Linked DNA regions of Homo sapiens: regions 1 and 2 are each linked to region 3. The links are contacts of gene promoters, found by promoter capture Hi-C in blood cells and fetal thymus (Javierre and others, 2016). All regions are on one chromosome and are shown on one strand. The core of a region is centred on a gene start or on the middle of the fragment in contact, and the rest is flanking DNA. Distances in the headings are between cores, read along the strand shown.

Region 1 (4,428 bases), core at 1,678-4,177, 490 kb after region 3:
GACTGCATTATCTACTGCTTGAATCTTAGAACTTACTTCTGCATAGAAATCATGCCACATATGGCTGGATAACCAGGCCAGCCCCAGGGAACCCCAAAGGCAAGTAGCACTACTGAATATCACCACCAGGGGGAACACTTTCATATGCAAATACACCCAGGCCCCTAGCAGAAACCGCTTCCCATATTTACAAAGAAAGCAGGTTCCTCCTCCCTGTCAGTGCTTACGAAAATCCCATCACCAGACCAGCGATGGGGACTCGGATGCAAACATGGTGCAGGGGAAGGCAGAGAAGAGACAGGGACTGGGCCATACATGCAAACCACTGGCCAGCTCCCCGTCCGGGTGGGCATCCCCGCATGTTATCTTTACACTGCTGCTCCTGCCCAGAGTTTCTCTCACACCCTGCAAGACAGAAGGCACTTCCACAGCCTTTCTCCTTCCTTCCTGGTGCTAAGGGACAAAATGCCCTTGTTAGACTTTGCCTCCACCCCATGCCTCATTTACAATCTGTAATAAAAGGAAGAGACAAAGGAGCAAAAGTGCTCTTCTCCCCTGTGACTCCCATCACTGCCACACTCCGGCTCCCATTGTTCACTAAGCCCTTATGCACCGGGCACCTTGCCAGACAGGGGACACGAAGATGAGGAAGAGGAGACCCTGCCCTCATGGAGCTTCATCAAACAAGAGAGACAGATCAAATGAAAATGATCTGTCAGTTGATATCTGTCAATATGAAAAAAGCAGGCAGGAACTACTCTAACAGGCTAGCACAGCGGCTAAGAGCACAGGCTCGAGTCTTGCTGCTCCACTTACTAGTTGTGTGGCAGGGCAAGACATTTCACTTCTGTAAGTCTCCATACCTTCATCAATAATGGGATAGTAATAATTGTGCCCAACAGGGTTACTGTAAGGATTAAAGAAAATAAAAGCTCTCAGTATAATGCTTGACACAGAGCAAGCATTTACTAAATTATTGTTATGAATTATTCAGGTCATTGTTATAAAAGAGGTAGAAAAAACAACTTTCAGAGTGGTGTCAAGGACTAAGCAAACTGAATGTTTGGTGGTGTCTATGGGGGCTGTATTTTAAACTCAATCTTGAAGAATGACTAAGAGTCTGTCAGAGAAGGGAAGGAAGGGCATTTTAGCAAAGGCCTGGGCTGGGGGCATTCACATGATAAGGAAAGATGCCTTCCTGGAGTCAGACTCCAAGGCCAACTGGGCTGGGGCAGCTAAGTCCAGAGAAGGACCTCAGGAGTCTGCCCTTAATCCTGTACCCAGGACGGGGCGGGTGAGAGGCACATGCTCAGATTTGTTCCTGACATGTAACTTCAAGAGCAGTGCTACATATTTTGCTTATCTATCCAGAAGACTGACTGCATACAGATGAGATAGGGCGTGGGGGGCCAAGTGGGAGGGAGCTCCAGGAGGTGCCTCCAGACATGGACCAGGGACAAGAGGACAGCTTAAAGAAAGGTTGTGGGAATTGAGTGCAACATTTCGGGTCTCAGCTTAGATGTCACTTGGCTGGGTAGCCTTTCCTATCTTGGCAGTTCTGGGTGACGTACCATTTTCCTAAGGGATCTTACAGCACCAAGACATCTTGAATCAGAGCTCTTAACACCTGTATCTATAGATTAGCTGAACAAATTCATTAAGGCCGACAGTGAGCCAGGCCCTTGCTTGGCATGGGGAATATAGCACTGAAGGCAGGGAAGAGTGTCTGTCCTCAAGCACTGCTCTAGAGCTAACCTGCTGGCAGGGGATACAGGCAAACAAACAAACAAACAAATATAGAAATTCACATGGTGCTAAGTGCTATAAAGAACAAAACAAAGTTAGAGGGTAAAGAGACAGATCATAGTGGAAGGGGGGTACCATAGGACAATCAGGGACAGCCTCTGAAGAGGGTCATATCTGACCAGACAGCAGGCTGCAATGAGGGAGCAAGGCAGGTGGAGACCTGGGAAAAGAGCAAGGACAGCATCCCCTAGGGTGAGGCACATCTGCAGCCTAGCCAGGATACCACTGTGGCTGGAACAGAGCAAGCAGGGAGGAGGATAAAAGACATAAGGTTGAAACCAGGCAAGGACCACACTGTGTATGGCCTCGTACTTTTATTAGAAGTAAAATGGGGCCAGGCCTGGTGGCTCACACCTGTCCAGCCCTTTGAGAGGCCGGGGCAGGAGGATTCCTAAAGTCCAGAAGTTTGAGACCGGTGTGGGTAACATAAGGAGATCCTGCCTCTATAAAAAACACCAAAAAATTAACCAGGTACACACCTGTGGTACCAGCTACTCAGGAGGCTGAGGTGGGAGGATCACCTGAGCCCAGGGAGGTTGAGAGGCTGCTGTGAGCCATGATCATGCCACTGTACTCAGCCTGGGTGACAGAGCTGTCTCAAAAACAAACTAAAAAAATTACTTAAAAAAAGAAGTGGAATGCCAAAGGAGGGTTAAGAAGAGTGAAAGGATCTGGGCAGGGTGCGGTGGCTCACACCTGTAATCCCAGCACTTTGGGAGGCTGAGGCAGGTGGATCACGAGGTCAGGAGATCAAGACCATCCTGGCCAACATGGTGAAACCCCATCTCTACTAAAAATACAAAAAATTAGCTGGGCGTGGTGGCATGTGCCTGTAGTCCCAGCTACTCAAGAGGCTGAGGCAGGAGAATCACTTGAACCCGGGAGGCGGAGGTTGCAGTGAGCCAAGATCGTGCCACTGCACTCCAGCCTGGGTGACAGAGCGAGACTCTGTCTCCAAAAAAAAAAAAAAAAAAAAAAAAAAGAAGAGTGTCAGTGTCAGGATCTGATTCAGGTTAAACTAAGATCATTCTGGCTGACATATGGAAAATAAGCTACAGGCAGCGAAGGCACAGAAACAGGAAAGTCAGAAGGCTACCTCAGTATTCTGATGAGAAGTAGTGGCAGCCAGCACTAAGCTGTTAACACGAGTGGTAAAAATGGTCAGGTTTCATACCACATCCAATTCATCAGCAAGTTCTGCCAGCTCTACCTTCAGAATATACAGGCAGTAGTATATATTCACCACAACTTTCAGAGTGGTATTGAGGACTAAGCACACTAAATGCTTGCGGTAGGATGCAGGAGTCAAGAGCTCAAGGAGGGCCGGGCACGGTGGCTCACGCCTGTAATCCCAGCACTTTGGGAGGCCAAGGCAGGCAGATCACCTGAGGTTGGAAGTTCAAGACCAGCCTGAACAACATGGAGAAACCCTGTCTCTACTAAAAATACAAAATTAGTGGGGTGTGGTGGCGCATGCCTGTAATCCCAGCTACTCGGGAGGCTGAGGCAGGAGAATCACTTGAACCGGGGGCTCAGGGGGAGGACAGGTCAGGAGAAGCCCCCTAGACGAAAGGATTTGGAGAAAAGGCCTCAGGACCAAACCAGCAAAGGTGACTGAGAAGAAACAGCCTAGAAAGAGGAAGCCGAGCAGGGGGTGGTGTCCTGGCAGCCGAAGAAGAGCAGGATTCCAGAAGGATGGAAGGAGCTGTCGGAGGATCAGTACTGCGGAGCGGTCAAGTGAGAGAACTCATGAAATGATCACTGGACGAAAGTCACCTGACCACAACAAGCAGCATCAGTAACGTGGAGGCTTAGGGAAAATGGGATGGAAGGAAGGAAACATACAAGCATACACAACTCTCTTGAGGAAACCTGCTATTCAGGAAAGCAGAGATATGGTGCAGAGGCTGGAGGGGAGTATAGATGAAGGACAATATTTTATATGTGCAATATCACCGTGTGCTTTATTGATCTGGCAAACAGTAAGAAACCCATGTGGGCTAAGAAAAATGCACACCAGGAAGGAGGGGCAAAAATTCTTCAGATAGCTGGAAAAGCTGAATAATCTTTAATGACTCAAAATGCTTACCAGAGGATTGATTTAAACAAATAAAGGATATTATTCCCTTTTTACCTTTCAAGAATTACAATGGTTCTTGTAACTAGTTGAAATAAATCTTAGAGGCATACAATGTAGTTATTACAAGTTGGTCCAAAGCTAAAATAGGAAAACAGCTATAGGATCAAGAAAAGATGTCAACTGATAAAATGTCTTTCTTGATGATACAGTATACTCAAGATTACAATTTCTAAATTCATTATTTTTGATAATTTCCATGAGCAGGACATACTTACAGGTTACACTGGTTTAGTCTGTAAAACTTGTGTCGCGCAACACAGAGTCTCCAAATGTATTTTGCTGTTTCCATGTCTTCCTAGCAAACAAAATAGGCATAAAGCAATATGAAAGCACACATACAACTTGATACGTTTAATGCAGAGTTTGTCTAAAGACATAATGGGTGACATCATATGACAAAGTCACTTTCAGAACACTATAAGCCTTTCATTTTCCAACACTGTGCCCATGGTATGAATACCACAAGTAGGATTTAATTTATG
Region 2 (4,554 bases), core at 1,846-4,345, 300 kb after region 3:
GCCTGTAATCCCAGCACTTTGGGAGGCCGAGGCGGGTGGATCACCTGAGGTCAGGAGTTCAAGACCAGTCTGGCCAACATGGTGAAACCCTGTCTCTACTAAAAATACAAAAATTAGCTAGGTGTGGTGGCACATGCCTGTTATCCCAGCTACTTGGGAGGCTGAGGCAGGAAAATCGCTTGAACCCGGGAGGCAGAGGTTGCAGTGAATTGAGATCGTGCCACTGCACTCCAGCCTGGGCAACAGAGAGAGATTTTGTCTCAAATAAATAAAAAAATAAATAAATAAATAAAACCCAGAGGAAATGATGTCACAAAGCATGTGATGGAAATGAAGTGCTTCAAGAAGGATGGGGTGGCTGGCTGTCAAAATTGCTAGGAAGGGTCAGGGAAAATGTGGCAGACACTGCCTGGCACTTTCACCTTAGGCGCTCCCCCTTCCTTTAACAGATCCAATTTTGGTTAAATGACAACATTTCAAAGAAGATGCGTCCCATTCACAGACTCAGGGGATGAATCTTAATTGGTCCAAGCCAATAAGGATAATACCATCCCCCTTTGCCAGGGATGAGTTTAGGGGGTGATATTTAAGAAATGTGCATGGGGCTTGCAGGGCAAAAAAAACATCCTCCATGATAAAAAGAAAAACACAGAGGCTACTTCACTCCCTTCCCTGCTTTTAGACGACATAATATCTGCTGATGTGATCAAGAGAGGCAGGGCAGGAAACTGAAGTCTGGGTCCTTGAAGGTGTTATGAAACACCCAAGCCAAGCCTGGAACATCCTTGTTCAGTGAGAACGTAACTCTCTTAACAGTCAATGTCCGTATTGTGTAAGTCACTTGTATCAGGACATTCTGCAACAGGCAGCTGAAAGCATCCTAACTGGTACTTAAGATAAAAGGACAGAAAGGTGATGCAATGTCCATAAGTGGCCTCCAAAGGAGCAGCCCCCATAAAGTGGTGGTGGCTTGGAAAGAATGTGAGGGGAGGAAGTAGTGATGGTGACTTCAGACCACCCTTTCCAGCAATTTTGCTGTGAAAGGCCTAAAGGAATGAGGGGTGGCTGGCGGCAATGCGGGATCAAGGGGGATGACACGGAAGCCCATGTATACGCTAGTAGGAATATTCAAGTAGAGAGGGAGAGATCAATTCCCCAGGAGAAGAGAGGATGCCCCAAAGAGCAAAGGAGTCCCCAGCATAAGCAGAAGGGACGGCCTTAGGTAGGAAAAGACGCCCTTCATCTAGAGAGGAATCAAGGTGGGACTGGTGGGTGCAGATGCAGGTAACCTAGAAGACTTGATCTGGGGAAATGAAGTTGTTTCGACCAATTGCTTCTTTTTTTTATCAATGATGTATGAGGTGTTCAAAATGTAAAATGTTTCTCAAGACCTATCTAAAAAAACTCCCTCCAATGTGAAGTCCTTCCTGAATCGCACACTCAAGTCCCTCCTTCACGCTTTCACAGAACTCTCTTCTGGAGTAGGTATTCTGTCTTGTGTCATAATTTGAGTTCCTTGTGCCACCAGAATGGACGCTCTTTAATGACAGGGACCATCTCATTAGCATCTCAATAGCAATCAAAAAGCCTGGAACACACGTTTAATAAATATACTAAATTGTACTTTGGGAGAGTGAGAAGGGGGATGGCTTGAAAACAGGAGTTGGAGACCAGCCTGGGCAACATAGGGAGGCCGTCTCCACAAAAAAATAAATAAATTAGCCAGGTGTGGTGGCATGTTCCTGTAGTCCTAGCTATTTGGGAGGCTGGGGCGGGAGGATCACTTGAGCCCAGGAGTTTGAGGCTGCAGTGAGCTAGGATCACACCACTGCACTCCAGCCTGGGTGACAGAGCAAGACCCTATCTCTCAAAAACAAAATAAAATGAAATAAAAATACTGAATTGAAGTAGAGTCTTATTGTAATGAAGTAAGAAAGACAACTGACCCTCATTATTCACTGAATATATATTTGCAAATTCTTCTACGTGTTAAAATTTATTTGTAACCCCGAAATCAAATCAATATTCATGGTGTTCTGCAGTCATTCGCAGTCATGCACACAGCAGTGAAAAAAGTTTGAGTCACCCGATGCACATGTCCTCAGCTGAGGTTGAACAAGGCAGCGCTCTGCCTTCTTGTTCGAGCGCTCATGCTGTAAGCTAGTGTCCATTCTGTGATCTATTTAGTGCCATGTTTTTCACATTTTGTGCTTTTTTGTTAGTGTTTGCACTGTTTAAAATCACCCCCAAGTGCAATGCTGAAGTGCTATCCAGTGTTCCTAAGTGCAAGATGCGAGGTGCCTTATGGAGAAAATATGTGTGTTAGATAACTTTGTTCAGAAATGAGTCACAGTGCTGTGGCTGTGAGTTCAATGCTAACAAATCAACAGTATATATGAAATAAGATGTCTTTAAACAGAAACACACATACAACAAGGTTATGTATTTAGTTGATGAAAATGTGACCTGACCAGGTGTGATGGCTCATGCCTATAATCCTAGCACTTTGGGAGGCCGAGGCAGGCAGATCACCTGACGTCAGGAGTTTGAGACAAGCCTGGCCAATGTGGTGAAACCCCACCTCTACCAAAAAATACAAAAGTTAGCCGGATATGGTGGTGCATGCCTGTAGTCCCAGCTACTCGGTAGGCTGAAGTGGGAGAATCGCTTGAACCTGGGATGTGGAGGTTGCAGTGAGCCAAGATCGCGCCACTGCACTCCCACCTGGGTGATAGAACAAGACCCTAAGCTCGAAAAAAAAAAGAAGAAGAAGAAGAAGAAAATGTTGTGACTAGAGGCTCACAGGAACCTAACCGTATATTTCCCCTAAAAGCAACGGTTCACTATTTGCTAATTCAGGATTTACAGCAACTTTATAAAACACAAGAATTACCATAAATGATGAGAATCAACTGTACTTGATTCTGCCCTTTTCTGAGAAGGAAAATTATGGAAACAAAATAGTTTGATGAGACTGGAACATGCCTCATCAAGCTTCACCCTCTCTTTTCATGCTGCATGGATCACTCACCAGCACCAGGGTTTGTTCTGAAGATATCTTGGGGAGAAAACTGCCAATCAGCTGTGGATTGTGTCTCCTGAGAGCCATTAGCCTGCCTGAGAGGTTGAGCATCCCCTCACTCCCACCATCAAAGCTAACTGATTGGGGCAAAAGGCAGAAAGGCAAGAAAAGAGGGAAGCTTTACCATATGTCTTCATTTGGGTTTCCCCAGAAGCTGATCCTACAATTACAATTTGAGCACAAGTGGTTTGTTTGGGAAGTGAAGAAATCGCCAGTAGGGAATTAGAGAAAAGAGAAAGGGCTGGGAAGGCAGCCAAGAAAACCAATAAAAGGTGAAGTTTCTAACTAGCTACTGCTGTCGCCCAGTGGAATTTTTCCTACAGAGGAAACTGGGACCCCATGTAAACCATATTCCTGAGTTACCCTACCCAAGGCTGAGGGAATTGGGGTGTTTACGCACCATCTTCCATCAGTTATTGGTTGAGGGCTCCTCCTGGGGTCCACTAATTCCCCAACACTTCCTGCCTTCCATGGGAGCAGCAAAGTAGGCTCAGTCAAGAAAAAGGCAAAAAAAATGCCAAGTTGGCAGTCAGAAGTGAGCCAGCATGAGCTGAAGTGGTGCGAGCAGGAGGATAGGGACAGGCACTGGAACATCTGCTACATCAGACTGGGCTGCTGCTGAAAGTCTTACATAAACCCAGAGCAGGAATGGGGCCACTTCCATGAAATCCATGGTAGACGAAATTCCTATACAACAAGCACATAACCACTACCGGAGGCCTAAATTGTTCATGTACTTTCAGCTAATTATCTGATTCAGGGGCCAATTTCCACTAGTTTTAAGTCAAAGTAAGGTTTCATGGTGTTTATATAGGTTATTTTCCTCCTTCTTTGGTAGAAGCAAGATGGAAATCTCATTTGCATTTTAATGATAAAATGGGACCTTTTCCCTAGAATAGCATGTGAGAGAACAGAGCAGGACAAAAGTAATTTTGGGGAAATGTGGGGGAAGATTTGTACTTCATAGGATGTGCTCTGTCATCATGATAGCTCATTCCCTGATGATCAAGTGAAGACACACATCCCTGCCCAAGAGCCTGCTGGTACCACGCCTTTTCCTTCCATGAATACCTGTCCCCATCATCCCCACTGCTATCACAGCAACTGAGGAAGGGATACACCATCTCATGTCTCCAGAAAAGCACTGGGGCTGGGGGAGGGGGCATGGGGTAGGAGGGGAGCCAACTAAGACACCATAGTGTTTCATTACAATCTATTATTGAAGACAACACAAGAAGGATGACATTTCCTCCATCATATTGAGTGACTGGTTGCTGGGTTTCCAACCCAGAAAGTATATCTCTCCTATCACTTTCATTTCTGTAACTTTCCAAGTTCATATCATAACCCTTAGGAAATGGACAAAAGAATTAGACTGGTCAACACTATGTGAGTATACAGACATGAAACCATATCCCCCTCAAGGTAGATGGAAAATATCAGAGTTCTTGCAACCACAGCAATTCCTCAGG
Region 3 (4,688 bases), core at 2,012-4,511:
ACCTGAGTTGTCCCTCATCCGTGACACAAAGTGCCACACTGGGCCACTGAAAGTGCTGTGAGATGGGCTGAGGCTTCCCATCACTTCTTTGTGCCCCTCATTCTACTCCACCTGTGCTATACGGGCACAGAGGGACTTGATGAGTGTCTTAGTTTGTTTTGTGTTGCTATAAAATAATACGTGAGACTGGATAATTTATAAAGAAAAGAGGTTTATTTAGCTCATGATTCTGTAGGCCAAGAAATTCAAGGATGTGGTCCCAGCTTCTGGCAAGGGATTTCATGCTGCATCACAGCATGGCAAAGAAAGTCCAAAGGAAAGTGGACACATGCAAAGAGGGCCGGAGAGGTATCCAGGCTCTTATAATAGCCCACTCTCTCGAGAACTAATCCATTCCTGGGAGAACTAATCCAGAAAGAGAACTCGCTTACTACCTCAGAACAGCACCAAGCCATTAAGGAGGGATCTACCCCCATTGCCCAAACGTCTCCCACTGGGCCCCACTTCCCACTACTGCCACACTGGGAATCAAATCAACACCAGCTTTATAAAGACAAACAAACCATACCCAACTATGACAGTGAGGTCTCTCAGGTACATACTCCTGAGTCTCTCCTTGGAAATGAGGCACAGGTTCACTCTCCTCCCCAGATCACACAACTCATCTAGGGTGTTTGTCACCCACCCCTACCTCAGGGCTTGCTTGGAAGTGAGTACAGCAATCAGGATGCAGGGCCCCTTTCTCAAGCACTGACCACATCTAACTCTTGAACATACTTCCTCTCTCACAACGTTAAACCCAACCCCCGCCAAGCAGGACAATCTTTTTCAGTTTTGGGGGCTGGGAAGCTTTACTTTATTTCAGCACATATTCTCCCAAGCATAGTGTCTGTGCCTCAGTCTTTTCCAAGGCCTTGAATTTTTGAAAGTCAAAACTCACATTGTCTTCTTTTTTTCCCCCCCGCTTGTGCCAGAAATTTCCTTGAGGCAATAAATGCAAAATGGCTCACTGATTGTGTAAGGGTAGGGCTAGAGTGAAAAGAAATGTGGCTGGGAAAATATAGCATTATTTCAAAATCTTACCCTGCCATATTTAGTTGCCGCTTTAGCTAGTGAAATTACACCTAGCAGATAGTGTGGCCTCACAAAGGACCCCTTCATCAGTAGAACACACTCTTGCACTGTCTGCCCAATGGAGAAGTTGGAACCAGGTAGATCCACAATCTCCTCCCCATTACCCCATGAGTAGCCCAACTGGCCAGTGTTGGGTCCCCAGATTGTGACCACAGAAAACCAAATAATTGACTGGTCAGAAATGCCAACCCCGTTAAGGCAGTGTTCTGAATAACTACTAATTGTCTTTATCTCATTGTTATGTTGTTAAAATGTCACAGTGACTCAATGATTTAAAATTTCTAACCGTTCATTATAAAAGATAGCCCTATAGTTGAAAATACAGTATTGCCATATTTTCCATATTAAGAAGCAAATTTCTTAAAAGCTGGTAAATTTCTTATTGTGTAGAGTTGGCAAGGTTTTAGCATAGGTCAGCTCCAGCTTTTTCTCCTCTTTAATCAGAAGTGAAAGTTTGTGTTTCTTATGTTTCTTAATGATAATCTTTTTCTTTTGAAAAGCAAAATACATGAATATTAGATATGGACATGAAAATACCCTTTCCCTAAAAGCAGAAGTATAGTCTATTCAGATAAAGTAAGAGATCATCAGAGTAATGAAATACCTACGTAACAATGCACTTGTACCCCGAACTTAAAAAAAGATATATCATGTATAGAAACCACAGATAAGCAGATGTACGAAACCAAGCAAAAATGAGAACTTTGAATTACAGTCACAAGTAAACTGAAATCGTTACTTTTCATTTTTGTAAAACTTCAAGACATTTATTGTTAATTTTTTACTTTATACTTAATTTTTATTATTTCAGTAACAATATATTGATTTATAATTTACTATATGCTAAATTACTTTATAAACTATCCTGTGCTTTATAAATGTAAGGTATTAGTTTTATTATTCTCAAAGAAAGACCTACAACGGAAGTATTGAAAATCTTTACATTCCTGATATACCCTGATCAACTTCAATATGGAAAGCCTTGCTTATATACAGGCTAATCTTTTCTATCTCTGGGTAGGGAGAAAAAAACAACAAAAAAAAAACACCAGCAACAACCCTTAATGTCCTTTAACAAACACAGATTCAAAATGTCCTGATTACATCTTTAAAATTAAGTCAAATGTTTTCATCCCAAATAAATTCTGTTCTTTCAAATAATATTTTCCCTTCATTTCTAATAAAAGTTTATGAGGGCAAGATTCAAAAGTGATATTTCTGACTTTTTTATATATCAATAGTAAGAAAGTTATAGGAGCTAATTTCACTTCATATTAAACCACTTATAGATTTGGCATTAACTTTAACTTGCTAAAGTACAAGAGTTTTTATAATAACAATGTAAGTCTTAAATAAAATTTTCAAGTTTCATAAAATTATTTGTCTCAGCTAGTTAATTCAACTGGTTTTTAGCCATCTCTGTTTCCAAGAGGAGAGAATCAAAGGAGAAAATAGTTCTACAATCAAATACTATATATCTAATCCCATTAGTCTCTCAAAAAAAAAAAGAAAAGAAAGACGGTATGAGGTTGGCTACCTTAACCCCTGCCTTAAGCAGCACAATATCCATCATTAAACCCCTCAGCCTCAATTCTCCCTTTTCTGTTTTTGTCCCAGGAACTTTATCACCCTGAATCTACCTACAATATCCTCCCCTATCTCACACATCCAAATGGTTCATTCTATTTTATCTGTACCCCTCTTGAAGTACTTCTTCATTTTGCCATTGCATTACAATCATTATTAAACATGTCTTTCTCCTTTACTAGGTAAAAAAAGCTGCTTTTGGTTGATAGCCAGTTCGTATACATCTCCCCGCACACTGCTGGCATGATGAGTGAATGAATGAATGAATGAATGAATGAACAAAGAAATAAATAAAATATTTAACATATATTCCATTAAGTAAAGGGCATATAATATAATATCAGTACATACTTGTAATTAAGATGCAATGAGACAAGTGAGTTATAAAAATTACAGTACAGTAAACAATAAATAAAAACATCTTTAAAAGTATTTAAGAGACTTTTTTTGTTCAAACTTGGATAACGCACACCCTTCTCATTGAGATGCTGCTTCCTCATTGGTTTGTGCTGAAATATGAGTGCAATTTCCTGTCCCCTCAGCAGTGTTGGTTTCTCTTCTTGACTTGATGCAGGCACAGATTTATCAAGCTCCTCAGTCAACAAACACATCACCGGAAGAAATATGGGTAAGTATAAGATTAAAAAATAAAATAATATTTTAAAGTAGATAACATGCTTTGGCATAATTGTCAGTGATGTTCGCAACATTCTTCCTGGTTTAGGCTGTATAAATGTGGTAATGCAAAGCATGATAAGAGAGAAAGAAATGAGGAAGACACATGGTTTCCTCTACTTTGAGCAGTGGTAAAGGGCCAAACTTTAAATTTAGAACTAATTAGGCAAAACCATAGATATAGAAAAAGGGGGTTGTTCATACTTTATTTTCTTTTCAGGAAACAGTGCTTTGGCAAACTTCATTCAGTATTAGGAAGAAGCCTACCAGCCCCTGGCTTTAGAGCTATCTGGCACCAATCCCTCATCTGTACAATGGTCCAGTAAATACTTTTTATATCCATCAGAAAAAAATGTGATATTAGGAAAGAATATTTCCAGTATTAATAAATGTCAAGTAATAATTATTAGTTAATAAGTGACTACCACAGTGCCTGAAATATATAGTAGAGTCTTAATAAGTAACTATTAAACTGATAGATGAAAGCAAGCATTTTCTATAACACTGTAGGAAAATATTGTACTTTTGGTCATCGTCATCAATGATTTGTACTATTTTTAGATCTGTTCAAGAATAGATATACTTTAATATACTGTAGATTGTCTTTTTTGACATCTGGTAAAAATTAAAAAATTAAAAACTCACCAAAATTTCTCAGTGCTTGTTCTAAAAACAATTTTCTCAAAATTTGATTAAAGGAGGCAAAATAATATCTGAAAAGATATGTGAATACTGTAATAGGAATTATATACAGTATTCCACTAAAATCTCAGATCCACCCAAATTAAATGAACAACTATTATCTGCAGAGCCTAGTATTATACGTGAAGTGTTACCATATAAATTACACTCTGAGCACCTCCAGCTTTTCTGCTATGCTGTGGCTAGATGACTAAAGATGATTTCTTTTCAGAAAATGTAGGGGACAGCACAAAGATTGGTGCAGACTACCAATGTCATTAAAACAATATTACCAGCTAACGTACAGTGAATGCCTCCCATGTGCTAGGAACTTTGCTTCATATGTCGTTTCATTTAACCCTCACAACAATCTTAGAAACTGGGTACTAACTTACACATGTGAAAACTGGAACTTAGAGAGGTGAAGAAACACCAATGGGCCCAGAGTGCTGTTGAGAGGCATTCGAATTGTCTCCAGAGCCCACGCTCTTAACCACAAGCCTGTACTGCCTCTGCGTCACTACAAAGAAGAGGGCCTCTGCTTCATCAACCCATCCTGTCTTGTGGTTAAGTCAAGGCAGGAAATGCTTTTACAGCTAGAGAAATGTATT

The links. Contacts are between HindIII fragments. The CHiCAGO score rates a contact against its expected background, and 5 or more counts as called.
Region 1: a fragment that was not itself captured here is called in contact with the fragment with the promoter of GPR65 in region 3 in 1 of 17 cell types (monocytes); the score reaches 5.4 in monocytes.
Region 2: a fragment that was not itself captured here is called in contact with the fragment with the promoter of GPR65 in region 3 in 1 of 17 cell types (monocytes); the score reaches 9.1 in monocytes.

Annotation. Positions count from the first base shown.
Region 1 is chr14:88,492,252-88,496,679 of GRCh38, forward strand. PTPN21 (protein tyrosine phosphatase non-receptor type 21) reads right to left here. Exons shown (of 19, transcript NM_007039.4): 10 at 4,162-4,241. Among named protein-coding and RNA genes, the nearest start is that of PTPN21, 61 kb to the right of the region's middle. RefSeq lists an enhancer at 192-381. The HindIII fragment of the contact is 7,054 bases long and covers 1-4,428 here.
Region 2 is chr14:88,302,448-88,307,001 of GRCh38, forward strand. The region is part of intron 1 of KCNK10 (potassium two pore domain channel subfamily K member 10); the gene reads right to left. Among named protein-coding and RNA genes, the nearest start is that of KCNK10, 19 kb to the right of the region's middle. The HindIII fragment of the contact is 206 bases long and covers 2,993-3,198 here.
Region 3 is chr14:88,001,874-88,006,561 of GRCh38, forward strand. GPR65 (G protein-coupled receptor 65) reads left to right here and starts at 3,262. Exons shown (of 2, transcript NM_003608.4): 1 at 3,262-3,349. RefSeq lists enhancers at 3,677-3,846, 4,647-4,688. The HindIII fragment of the contact is 4,497 bases long and covers 848-4,688 here.